Regions from separate parts of the Homo sapiens genome. Here all the other regions are linked to region 2. Evidence: promoter capture Hi-C in 16 types of primary human blood cells and fetal thymus (Javierre and others, 2016). All regions are on one chromosome and are shown on one strand. Each heading gives the region's core, a stretch centred on a gene start or on the middle of the fragment in contact. The rest is flanking DNA. Distances are from core to core; before and after follow the strand shown. Region 1 holds the start of SLC41A3 (solute carrier family 41 member 3). Region 2 holds the start of ABTB1 (ankyrin repeat and BTB domain containing 1). Region 3 holds the start of HMCES (5-hydroxymethylcytosine binding, ES cell specific).

The links. Contacts are between HindIII fragments. The CHiCAGO score rates a contact against its expected background, and 5 or more counts as called.
Region 1: a contact is called between a fragment that was not itself captured here and the fragment with the promoter of ABTB1 in region 2, in 1 of 17 cell types (non-activated CD4 T cells). The highest score is 5.1, in non-activated CD4 T cells.
Region 3: the fragment with the promoter of HMCES here is called in contact with the fragment with the promoter of ABTB1 in region 2 in 1 of 17 cell types (neutrophils); the score reaches 6.7 in neutrophils.

What each region holds. Positions count from the first base shown.
Region 1 is chr3:126,082,143-126,085,609 of GRCh38, forward strand. SLC41A3 (solute carrier family 41 member 3) reads right to left here and starts at 1,982. Exons shown (of 11, transcript NM_017836.4): 1 at 1,951-1,982. ALDH1L1-AS1 (ALDH1L1 antisense RNA 1) reads left to right here and starts at 2,073. Exons shown (of 8, transcript NR_190231.1): 1 at 2,073-2,310. RefSeq lists silencers at 1,630-1,739, 1,780-2,329. The HindIII fragment of the contact is 7,725 bases long and covers 1-3,467 here.
Region 2 is chr3:127,671,564-127,674,800 of GRCh38, forward strand. ABTB1 (ankyrin repeat and BTB domain containing 1) reads left to right here and starts at 1,389. Exons shown (of 12, transcript NM_172027.3): 1 at 1,389-1,518; 2 at 2,828-2,890; 3 at 2,982-3,037. The coding sequence starts at 1,463. PODXL2 (podocalyxin like 2) reads left to right here. Exons shown (of 8, transcript NM_015720.4): 7 at 1-50; 8 at 705-1,239. The coding sequence ends at 917. RefSeq lists silencers at 671-750, 761-1,360, 1,501-1,760. The HindIII fragment of the contact is 11,080 bases long and covers 1-3,237 here.
Region 3 is chr3:129,277,304-129,280,992 of GRCh38, forward strand. HMCES (5-hydroxymethylcytosine binding, ES cell specific) reads left to right here and starts at 1,567. Exons shown (of 7, transcript NM_020187.3): 1 at 1,567-1,602; 2 at 2,407-2,612. The coding sequence starts at 2,430. It overlaps COPG1 (coat protein complex I subunit gamma 1), which reads left to right. Exons shown (of 24, transcript NM_016128.4): 24 at 1-470. The coding sequence ends at 121. RefSeq lists silencers at 1,422-1,771, 1,782-2,171 and an enhancer at 2,592-2,721. The HindIII fragment of the contact is 5,702 bases long and covers 1,341-3,689 here.

The DNA of each region.
Region 1 (3,467 bases), core at 270-2,769, 1.6 Mb before region 2:
AGTGTTTGCAAGGAGAACATGCTCCAATGTCCCTGTGTCACTGACAGCTCGTGCAGATGAACAACCAAGCACAGGCTGGAGGAGGCTCCTGTGGGAAAGTGGGCTGTGGGCCAGGAAACCTCTAATCCCAGAGCCCCAGGGAGGAGCCAAGATGCCAGAAGATGCCAGTGGAGGCATTGCCTCCAAGGTCCCCACAGAGGACATTGGGCAATGTCTGCACATGGTTTTGGTTGTCCCGACAGGGGGTGATACAGGACAGCCCCCCAAAACAAAGAACTGCCCCACCCCAAATGTCAGTAGTGTGGAGGCCGAGAAACCCTGCTATGGGGCAGTGGTCAGAGACCCTTGTGCCTTGAAAGGGGCTAGGCTGGGCAGGACAGGTTGTGGACCACCTGGGGCCACAGTTCAGAGCCACGCCTGAGTCTGTGAGGCTGCCCACCCTCCCAGCTGCCAGCATGGGGTTGGGGGGTATCCGCCCCCATCAGACTGAGGAGGAAACGGACACTCTGTCACCCAGAAGCATCCCTGTGTCACCCTGTGAGGTTGGCCTTGGACCCAGGCCTCTAGGCGCCCCGTCAGCACCCCAGTGCGAACACATCCTGCCCGGGGACCTGGACCCAGCAGCTCACACAGACCAGGGCTCGCCCAAAGGCAGGCAGGCAGGGCCACTGCTGACCACGCACCTGGCTGGTCGTGATTCTGGAACTAATGGTTTCTGCCTGGCAGGGAGGCCGCCAGGACCTCTGGGCTTCACCCCTCCCCACCTTCACAGGGGACCTCGCCTCAGTGGGAATGTTCTGGAGCCGGAACCCAAGGTTGGAATCCCAGCTCCTCCCCTTTCTAGGTCTGTGACCTTGGAAAAATTAAACTTTCTGTACCTCTGTTGCCTAATCTGTGAAATGGGGTAATACTACCTACTGTGTAGGGCTGTGAAGATTAAATGGAGTCATGCATTATCATCACAGGGCACCTGGCCCATCCTCAACCCCAGTTCAGACTCCTCAAAGCCCTAAGGTTTCAGATCAATGGTCAGAACCACGAGGAGGACCTGCTAAAGACAAGTATGGGGACCCACCCCCAAGGTTTAGGATTTAGAAGGTCAGGGTGGGGCTGGGGAACCCGCATTTCTAGCAGATCTCAGGAAAGGCAGTGCTGCTGGTCCTGGGACCACAGTTTGAAAACCACTGGTGTAAAAAAAGCCTTCTAAAAAAAAGTGGGATTTGATCACTAAAGTCATATGGAAAAAACTGGAAGAAAGAGGAAAAAATAAACAAATAAATAACGGGATTTTAAAGAGACCTATCCCACCGGCTCTCCTGGATGGAGAGAGTGTGGGACTCTGAGACAGACTCCCGGCTGGGCACCCCCAGGAGGTTTTCTTCACCAGAGGTTTGCACCGAGCCCACCCAGGACAGTGGGCTGAGCCTGTGGTAGAGGCTGGCGGGAGGTCTGGCTGAGGCAGCGAGGGGTCCCTGCGCGCGGGCGCTGCAGGAGTCACGCGTGTGACATCCAACCAGGAGCCGTGCCCTGAGCAGGCCAGGAAGGAGGAGACAGGGCCGCTGAATGCACACCGCAGCGGTGTGGGGAGCGGCCTCAGACACCTAAGGGTAGGACCGGCCGGCTCCCCCGCGACCCCCAGCGCCTGGGTTCTCTCCCGGCCTCCCCGAGGCGTGGCCTACCCCAGGCATGGCCCCACCCCGCCCCAGGCCGCCCCTCCGACCCCTCGTGTTTACCTCATCTCCCGCGCGCCTTTCCCCCACCGAGTCCCCCAAATCCCGGTCCCCACCTGACTCCCCCTCCCGCCGAGCCCCCAGGGCCCGGCGCCCGGCTCACTCGCCTCCCGCGCACCCACTCCCGGGCGCCCTCTCCCGCGCGCCTCCCCGACCCCCCTTGGGCCCCAGCTGACCCCACCTTCCGCCCCAACCCCGCCCGGAACAGGGCCGCGCTTACCGGGTCCCCTCCCAGGCGGCGGCGGGAAAGAGGCGGGCGGAGGACGCAGGGGCGGGCCTGCGGCTCAGGCAGGAAGCGGGAAGGCCGGGCCTCCCTGGCCCCGCCCCGGCCGGGCGGCCGGACCTCGGACGACTTGGCGCTCCGGGACAGCAGCAGACGCCCAAGCTCCGGCAGCGCAGAGCCCCGCCGGGGGCCCGGGGGGCTGGGAGCCGGGGATCGCGGGGACGGAAGTGGGGGACCGAGTCTCGCGAGCCCGGGCCCTCCTCGCAGCTGGGGCCCCACTGGCGCCCCCGCGGGAGCGCTACGGGAGAGGCGCCTATGCGGCTGCAGGTTTTATTATGGAGCTGTCAAGGTAGAAAGGTACGGAGAACGGGAACCCACCGACAGCCAACTTCCCTTGGGACCCGCCTTTTGCTTTAAAAACAACAACGACAAGTCTGTGCTTCACCCCACACATGCCTTTCGTTTTCCCTTTTTTCCCAGAGTAATTTTAAAGCATCCCAGTGGATAAATTCTCCTTTAAATACTCGAGTATGTTTAATCAGTAAGGCCTATTTTTTTAAACATTCTCATAGTATTACGGTCACACCTAACGAAATTGGCAATTCCCAGTCCGGGCCTGAGGGAGGCCTGATGGTTCACAAGACTTGGTAAAATATATCATTATATTTTAAACCAAAAAATAAATGATAAGGCACCTCCCCGTTCCCAACCACCAAATCATCCGAATGGACTTCTTCCTCAGCCAGGACTTTTAGAATTTAACCTGAAAAACTGGTTCAGGCCATAAGGGGAAGTGGAGGCCGAACATGCCTCATTATCCCTCTCCTGCATTAACATCAACACAGACTTTAAGTCTGATAAGAAACATTTTACAGCCTCTTCTCTCTGAAGCCTGCTACCCTATCCGAATACTTCATCTGCGTGATAAAACACATTGGTCTCCACAACCTCTTAACCCAGACATTCCTTTCTTTAATCCCAGGTCTTTGGACAAACTCAACCAATTGTCAACCAGAAAATGTTTAAGTTGACCTATACCCTAGAACCACCCTCCCCCTCTTTGAGTTTTCCTGCCTTTCTGGATCAAACAAATTTATTTCTTAAATGAACTTAACTTGAAGTCTCATGCCTCCTCAGAATGTATTAAACCAAGCTGCACCCCGACCTCCTTGGGCACATGTTCTCAAGACCTCCTGAAGGCTGTGTCACTGGCTGTGGTCACTCATATTTGGCTCACAATAAATCTCTTCAAATATTTTACAGAGTTTGACTCTTCCACAATAATTTGGCACCCAGCGTGGGGCCTCAGAGAAGACTCAGGACCCCAAAGGAGTTGCCTGAACTCGGAGCGAAGATACCAGTGGGGCCCATTGAAGCCTCCCAGACTTCTAGCTTCTCCCCCGATGGAACTGGTTAAGTTCTCCTGAGCCCCAGATCGCCCTTTGGTTGACAGTCCTTCGTTTAGTGTGAGCTGGTTTTTCTCCTAGGAAGTTGTTGTTTAAGGATTCTAATTC
Region 2 (3,237 bases), core at 139-2,638:
GCCTGCTCTACAACTGCTGGCAGCGCCGGCTGCCCAAGCTCAAGCACGTGGTGAGTGTGGGGACAGGTGGGGCTGGGGGCCAGTTGAGAGGAGAGTGCCCATCGATAGGTGTCCTCATCTGCAAGGGGAGGCAGTGACTCTCCTGGGCGCACAGGGTCCCGTGGGTGAAGCAGCTGGTCAGCCTAGCACTGCTGACTGCTCTGCAGGGCACCAGCCCCAGGACAGGTGCCAGAGGTGCAGGGAGTGAGGGGGCTGCTAGCCCCACCAGGGGGCCCCTCCCTGGCACCACCAGCCCCTTTCCGGCGCAGGCACTGCAGGGCCTGAGCACCTGAATACCTCACCAGAGGCAGGCCCTGCGTTGGTGGTGCCCAAGGATCAAGGAGAGGCTCCAGCAGCCTAGAGGCCTCCCCAGGAGGAAGCGAGCAGAGCCCTAGCGATGCTCCCTGCCCACCTCGCAAGTGGAGTCTTCTTAGGGGGCTGTTGGGGGATCGATGACGTCAGGGAGGCCACGGGGCTTTGTAGTGCCAACGACTAGTAGGTTTATTTTGAGAAAGGAGTTGAGCTGCAGCAACAGAAAAGAAGGATCTGGCACCTGTGGAGGGTGCCGCGGGAACCCCCTGGGTGGGGTTGCACAGACGGCCGCGGGCCTGGCGCTGTCCGGGGGCTGGCTCGCTCGCCCATGGCCTCTCCCCACCCCGCCTCAGTCGCACGGCGAGGAGCTGCGCTTCGTGGAGAACGGCTGCCACGACAACCCCACGCTGGACGTGGCCAGCGACAGCCAGTCGGAGATGCAGGAGAAGCACCCCAGCCTGAACGGCGGCGGGGCCCTCAACGGCCCGGGGAGCTGGGGGGCGCTCATGGGGGGCAAGCGGGACCCCGAGGACTCGGACGTGTTCGAGGAGGACACGCACCTGTGAGCGCAGCCGAGGCGCAGGCCGAGTGGGCCGCCAGGACCAAGCGAGGTGGACCCCGAAACGGACGGCCCGGAGCCCGCACCAGCCCCGCGCCTACCCGGGCCGCCCCCGCGGCCTGGCCCTCGGCGCGGGCTCCTTCCCGCTTCCCCCGACTTCACACGGCGGCTTCGGACCAACTCCCTCACTCCCGCCCGAGGGGCAGGCCTCAAAGCCCGCCTTGGCCCCGCTTTCCCGCCCCTGAACCCCGGCCCCGCGGGCGGCGGGCGGCGCTTCCTGCGCCCCGGGACTCAATTAAACCCGCCCGGAGACCACGCCGGGCCCAGCGCGTCTGCCTTCTTGACTCATTCTTATTTCCGGGGTTGGGGCGGGGCGGGGCGGGCGGGGCACCCCGGGGCAGGGGCGGGGCCGCGGGGCGGGGAGGCCGGGGCGGGCGGGTCCTCCGGACGCCGCTGCAGAGCGGGGCGGGGCGGGGCTGAGCGTGTTTACATCCGCCGGGTGCGCGGCTTCGCCGCCCGAGGTCGTTCGGCTCGGGTACCATCCTCCGCGCCATGGACACCAGCGACCTGTTCGCCAGCTGCAGGAAGGGGGATGTGGGCCGAGTGCGGTGAGGACCTCGCAGTCCCGGGGAGGGTGCGGGAGGTGGCCGCCCTCGGAACGCCTCGGGCCCTGGGACGGGCGGCTGGGCGGCCGCGGAGAGGCGGGCGCCTCTGCCGGGTCACAGCCCTCGGAGCGCCCCCGCGGGGCAGACCACCCGGACCCCCGCCGCAGCCCCCCAGCGGAAGCGCGCTGGGGCGGGGACACTGATGGCCATTGACCCCCGGAGGGCTTCCTGTAAGAAGGGACTGCTCAGCGGAGGCCCGAAGGCGCAGAAGTGGGCGGAGAGAAGGCGGGCCACTGTTCGCCCTGGTAGGGCCCGGACGTCAGACCCCCCGGGCGCAGGGCGCGGGTATAGGCCTGGGACTCCAGACGTGGCCCCTTTCTCTCGTGCTCTCTGGACCTGGCGCGGGGAACACCTAGAGCCCATAATCGGCCTCCGGTCCCTGAGGATTCGGAAACTCCTGACGCAGCTAAAGTGAATCTGGCGCTGAGATGCCCCCTCCATGGGCCGGACGCGGAGGGAAGGGGTGCCCAGTTGGGTTCTGGGGCCCTTCCCCTCCTTGGGCTTCCACTATCCCGTTTGACCTCCTTTTTTCTTGGCCCTTCCTCCCCCTTGACCTGGTGCTGACTGACTGCTTCCACCTCCCCTGGGCTGGCGCCGGGCTGCTGTACTCCCGTAGCCTCCCTGGGCCGCTCCCTGACATCCCGTGCCACTCAAGAGTTAGTGCATAGTGTCAACGCTGAGTGGGTTCACAGCACTTCCAGGTGCAGCCTGGAGGCCTCCTTTGGGCTGCCCCCGCCTCAGTGGGGCTGCATTAGCATTGGCGACTCCCCTCGCTCACCTTCCGCATCCCATCAGTTGCTGTATCCCGCGACTCCTGCCTCCTAGAATTGTGTGCCCTCCACACCATCAGGAGGCCTGCAGCAGCTTTTTCCCGGGCTCCCTGCTTCTAACAGGGCCAGCTTCTTCCTGCAGTAGAGAGCTCTGGTGGGAGTGAAGGCTCCATCACCTCCTCTCCCAAACGCTGAAAGGCCAAAGGTCCAGCCTCGGCACTGGCTCTGGCTTCTGTCCCTGTAGCCCATCGTCCCCCAGCACTGATAGCACACAGTGTCTGCCTGTTCGACCCCACCTCCACATCCTTGCCTGCACTTTGCCTTGAGTGCCTCTCCTGCTCTGGTCTGCCTGTCACCTGCCCTCACCTGGGGGAGGCTTCCCCATACCAAAAGGGATGTTTTCTCTCCGTTCCTTTCCACGGGCCTTCTTTCTCAGACCATGAACCCGTCCTGACCCAGGCTCTGACCTCCTTCCTGCCCAGGTACCTGCTGGAGCAGCGAGACGTGGAGGTGAATGTGCGGGACAAGTGGGACAGCACCCCCTTGTGAGTGCTGGAGAGAGGGGTGGGGAGGGTGGGGGTTGGTGCACCCCTTCAGCACTGAGGACTGCCTCCTGTACTTCCTTCCTCCCTTCAGGTACTATGCCTGCTTGTGTGGGCACGAGGAGCTGGTACTCTACCTTCTGGCCAATGGTGAGAGCAGGGAGCCCGGCTCACGGGTGTGCGTGGGTGCATGCATGTGTGCGTGTGGGTGCATGCATGCGTGCGTGCATTCAAAGGCCTTGATACACATTTGCAAAGCACCACGATTCCTCTCTTACCACCCAGTCGAATCAGCAAGTACTATTATTGCTACTTTAAAACCTTTTCTCTGTCCACCTTGCCCATCTCTA
Region 3 (3,689 bases), core at 317-2,816, 1.6 Mb after region 2:
GGGTGGTCATGACATCCTGGTGCGCTCCCGGCTGCTGCTTTTGGACACAGTGACAATGCAGGTGACAGCCAGAAGTTTGGAGGAGCTGCCAGTAGACATCATCTTGGCATCTGTGGGATAAGAGGCCAGCCTGCATAGGACCTCATACCCTTCCCCAACACTACCTGGAAGTTGTGCCTTCCTCATGAAACTGGCAGAAACCCCTTCCCAAGCTTCTGTATTGAAAAACAATTAGGAATCATTGCAGATTTTTTTTTATTCTGCTCCCACCTCCCACCCGGGACTACTTGCTGGTGACTTTTTTTTTTTTTTTTTTTAAATAGGGGATGATTTTAGCTTGTCCTAAATCTTGCTGTCCACCCTTCCAGGAAAGGGACATTGTAAATGAATAAAACATTCTCAACTCCTCTTGAATCTATCCCCCAAGAAACCATCTTATCCCTGTAATAAATCAGCATGTATTTATTGAATGATTGCTACTTCTGCAGACTCATGCTTCAGGGCTCCACCTTCCCCTTCAAGGCCTCCCCTAAAGAGGCAGAACACCTGCCCTGTCCCCCTTGCACCCACAGCCCTTTGGCTGTTGTAGTCCTGTGAGGCAGGACCCTCTCCCCGTCATCGCTGTCCCAGCACCAAGCCCAGGGGTGGGAGCGGTAGAGGGTGGTTGAGTGAATCAGCTAACAGGCAGAGTTCACACTCCCTCCCGTTCGTGCTTCTTCACAACGCATCCTCCTTTGATAGTCGATAAATGGAGGCTCCAAAGGGCTTGGGTCCTGTGTCTGATCGTTCCAGCATCTGGTCTTACATGGAGTGTGCCCTGGGGTTTCTGCTCCCTGTTCAGTTCAGCGAATCAGCATAGGCGAACAGCCCTCTAGAGCATTCTCTGTTGGTTGCAGATGAAGAATCTCCGGTTTAGGTCCCAAGGGGAGCAGGCTTTTAAACTCAAGCCAGGCTATTTTACCAACTTTGAGGCCAAAGTACACCCGAAAGGGCTGTTTTAAAAATCTGGGCCTCACCCTTAGAGATTCAGCTGAGGGGCTGGGGCAGGAAAGGCTTATTCTAGTGCCCACCAATGTTTGAGGGCGAAGTGCGCGATTCCTGGAAGTTCTTCTGACTTTCATTTCTTCAGTGTTCCTCCATTTTTGCCTCGCACTGTGAGGCAGCTGGCAGGACTGTGAAGTAAGGAGTGGAGTTTCCTGGTTTCCCGCCTTCCATGACCCTGTGCCCTAGACTCAGCGCGGCGGGAACCTTCCCTGCCAGCCCTGAAACACGCTGGGGGCGGGGAGGAAGGTTAACCCCGCCAGGGAACGGCCAATATGGAGGAAAGTGGAGTCCCGAGAAGCTTGGGATCGATATGTCTCCCAAGGCAGTCACTGTCTCCTGGGGAAACGGGAGAAAATTCATCCCAAACCGGAGGGGAGAAGACGCCGCCTCCGGGGCCCGAGGGCACCGCGGGAACCAAGGGCCCTTGGGGGCGGGGCCTGGCGCCGGGAGCGCGGGCTGAGGCGGGGCTGACGTGAGGGGCGGTGACGCGGGTGGCCAAAGCGGAGCGGAGCGGGGGTGAGGAGAGTCGAGGGAGGTGACGCGCGCTGCCGGGGCGAGGTGAGGGGAGGGGAGGCGACGCGGGCGGTCGGGGTATGGCGAGGGGAGGGGAGGGGAAAGGAAGCGACGCGAGCTGACAGAGGGGAGCAGAGGCCCGAGCGGACGCGAGGCGACGCGGAGAGGGCGGCCTGGGCCGAAGTGAGGCGACGCGGGGCGGCGGAGTCTGAGGGCCGGAGCGGAGCGGAGGCGACGCGGGGAGGGGCGAGGGATCGCGGCCGGTGGCTGGGGGCCACCTGCTCCCCGAGCACCGGCCCCCGCTCCGGGGAGCAGAGTCCGGAGCGGGATCCGCGGCCCACAGGTTCGCAGGTCGGGCCCGGGGACGCTGCGGACTAGCGGGCGGGAGGCGGGGATTCTGCACCCCGGCCCCGGGCCGTCCAGTGGCCGCCCTCGAGGTGACCGGTTGCTGGCCGGCGTGGGTCGCTGACCCCAGCGGGGACTGGGGGGAAGGACGGGGAGTTGGGGGCACCAAGTCACCCGGAGGAGGCGACCCCAGCTAGCTGCGCTTGCCCTGCTTCGCTGGACTGTGAAGCCCCCTCCGCTGCGGCTCTTCCTGCGCTCAGGCAGGCATTTGCAGAGCTCCTCTCGGGACTTGCCTCAGTGCCCTGCACGGAGCTGGGCAGTGGGCTCAGGGAGCGAAGCAAACGGGCACATCCTTGTCTTTGTGGGACTTTTTGGGGAAGACTTTAGACGGTGGTCACGGAGGGGCACGGCCCTGTGGGAACGGAAAGAGAAGGCGGGGACTCAAGGAATAAGACCTAATATTTGAGATACGTAAGCCTTTTCCTTACGTTTTGTAATTTAAAGGTTGCGAGGGGCGGTGTTGAAGAATGTGTGGGCGAACATCCTGTCACTTACCTAGAGATGTTCTCACGAGAGCTTGCGCCTACCAGGATCGGCGGGGCCAGCAGCGGCTCCCGGAGTGGAGGGACCCTGATAAGTACTGCCCCTCTTACAACAAGAGTCCTCAATCCAACAGCCCAGTGCTTCTGTCTCGACTGCACTTTGAGAAGGTAACCAGCATTGCACTATGCTAGCCCCTCGCCCAGCCTCGTGATGGTCATCTCCTATTTGGTTTGGTGTGTGCTCAGCCTCTTGGGATGACATTAAAAACCAGCCTTTACTGATATATTCTGACTTCCAGTTGAGAACCTCTCTTGGCCTCATGAAAGAAGTTTTATCAGTGGCTTCTAACACTGATAAAGACGTATTTTTCAGGCTCAATTTAAATGCCTTTGCTATACATGGCATACTAGCCTTAATATATGCCAAATTTATATGAGCTTTGTGTTTTAAAATAGCAGCTTTCACTGATCATCAGGGTCATTGGAGTATCTTAAAAATATAATAAAAAAATTTAAGGCCAGGTGCCATGGCTCATGCCTGTAACCCCAGCACTTTGGGAAGCCGAGGTGGGAGGATCACTTGAGCCTAGGAGTTGGAGACCAGCCTGGGCAACATAGGGAGACCCCATCTCTACAAAAAATAAAAAAATGAGGTGGGAAGATCACTTGAGCTGGGGAGGTCGAGGCTTCATGAGCCATGGTTGTACCACTGCACTCCCACCTGGGTGACAGATCAAGACCCTGCCTAAAGAAAAAATTTAAAAAAATAAAAAATTTAAGAATATTTCTATGCCCTTTACCAGGCCAGCTTAATCAGACTTCTCTAGGCCTAGGACAGGCTTAAGATCAGTTAATTTAAAACACTTCTGATGTTTCTTGAGCATTGAAAAGTTTTATTCTTTCTGCTTGTGTTTTCAATCTTTTTGTGTTTGTCTTTTACTAAGGCTAGAAACACGTATTTGGTTTGGTTATCTGAAGTTTAATTGCATTCATTGTGTTTATAGTATTTATCCCTGTAGTGTTGGAATTACCAGTCACTTACATTCATATTTTAGTTTTTTGCCTTATCTCCTGAAAGTGTGTGTGTCTTTGTATGTGTGTGTAATAAAAATGCTTCGTTCTAGAAAGTAATAGTTTCTCCATGTCTTAAATATTTTAAATGACCTTGACATGTTTTTAAAAATCGTGATTGTTGGCTGGGCACGGTGGCCCACGCCTGTAATCCTAGCACTTTGGGAGGTGGAG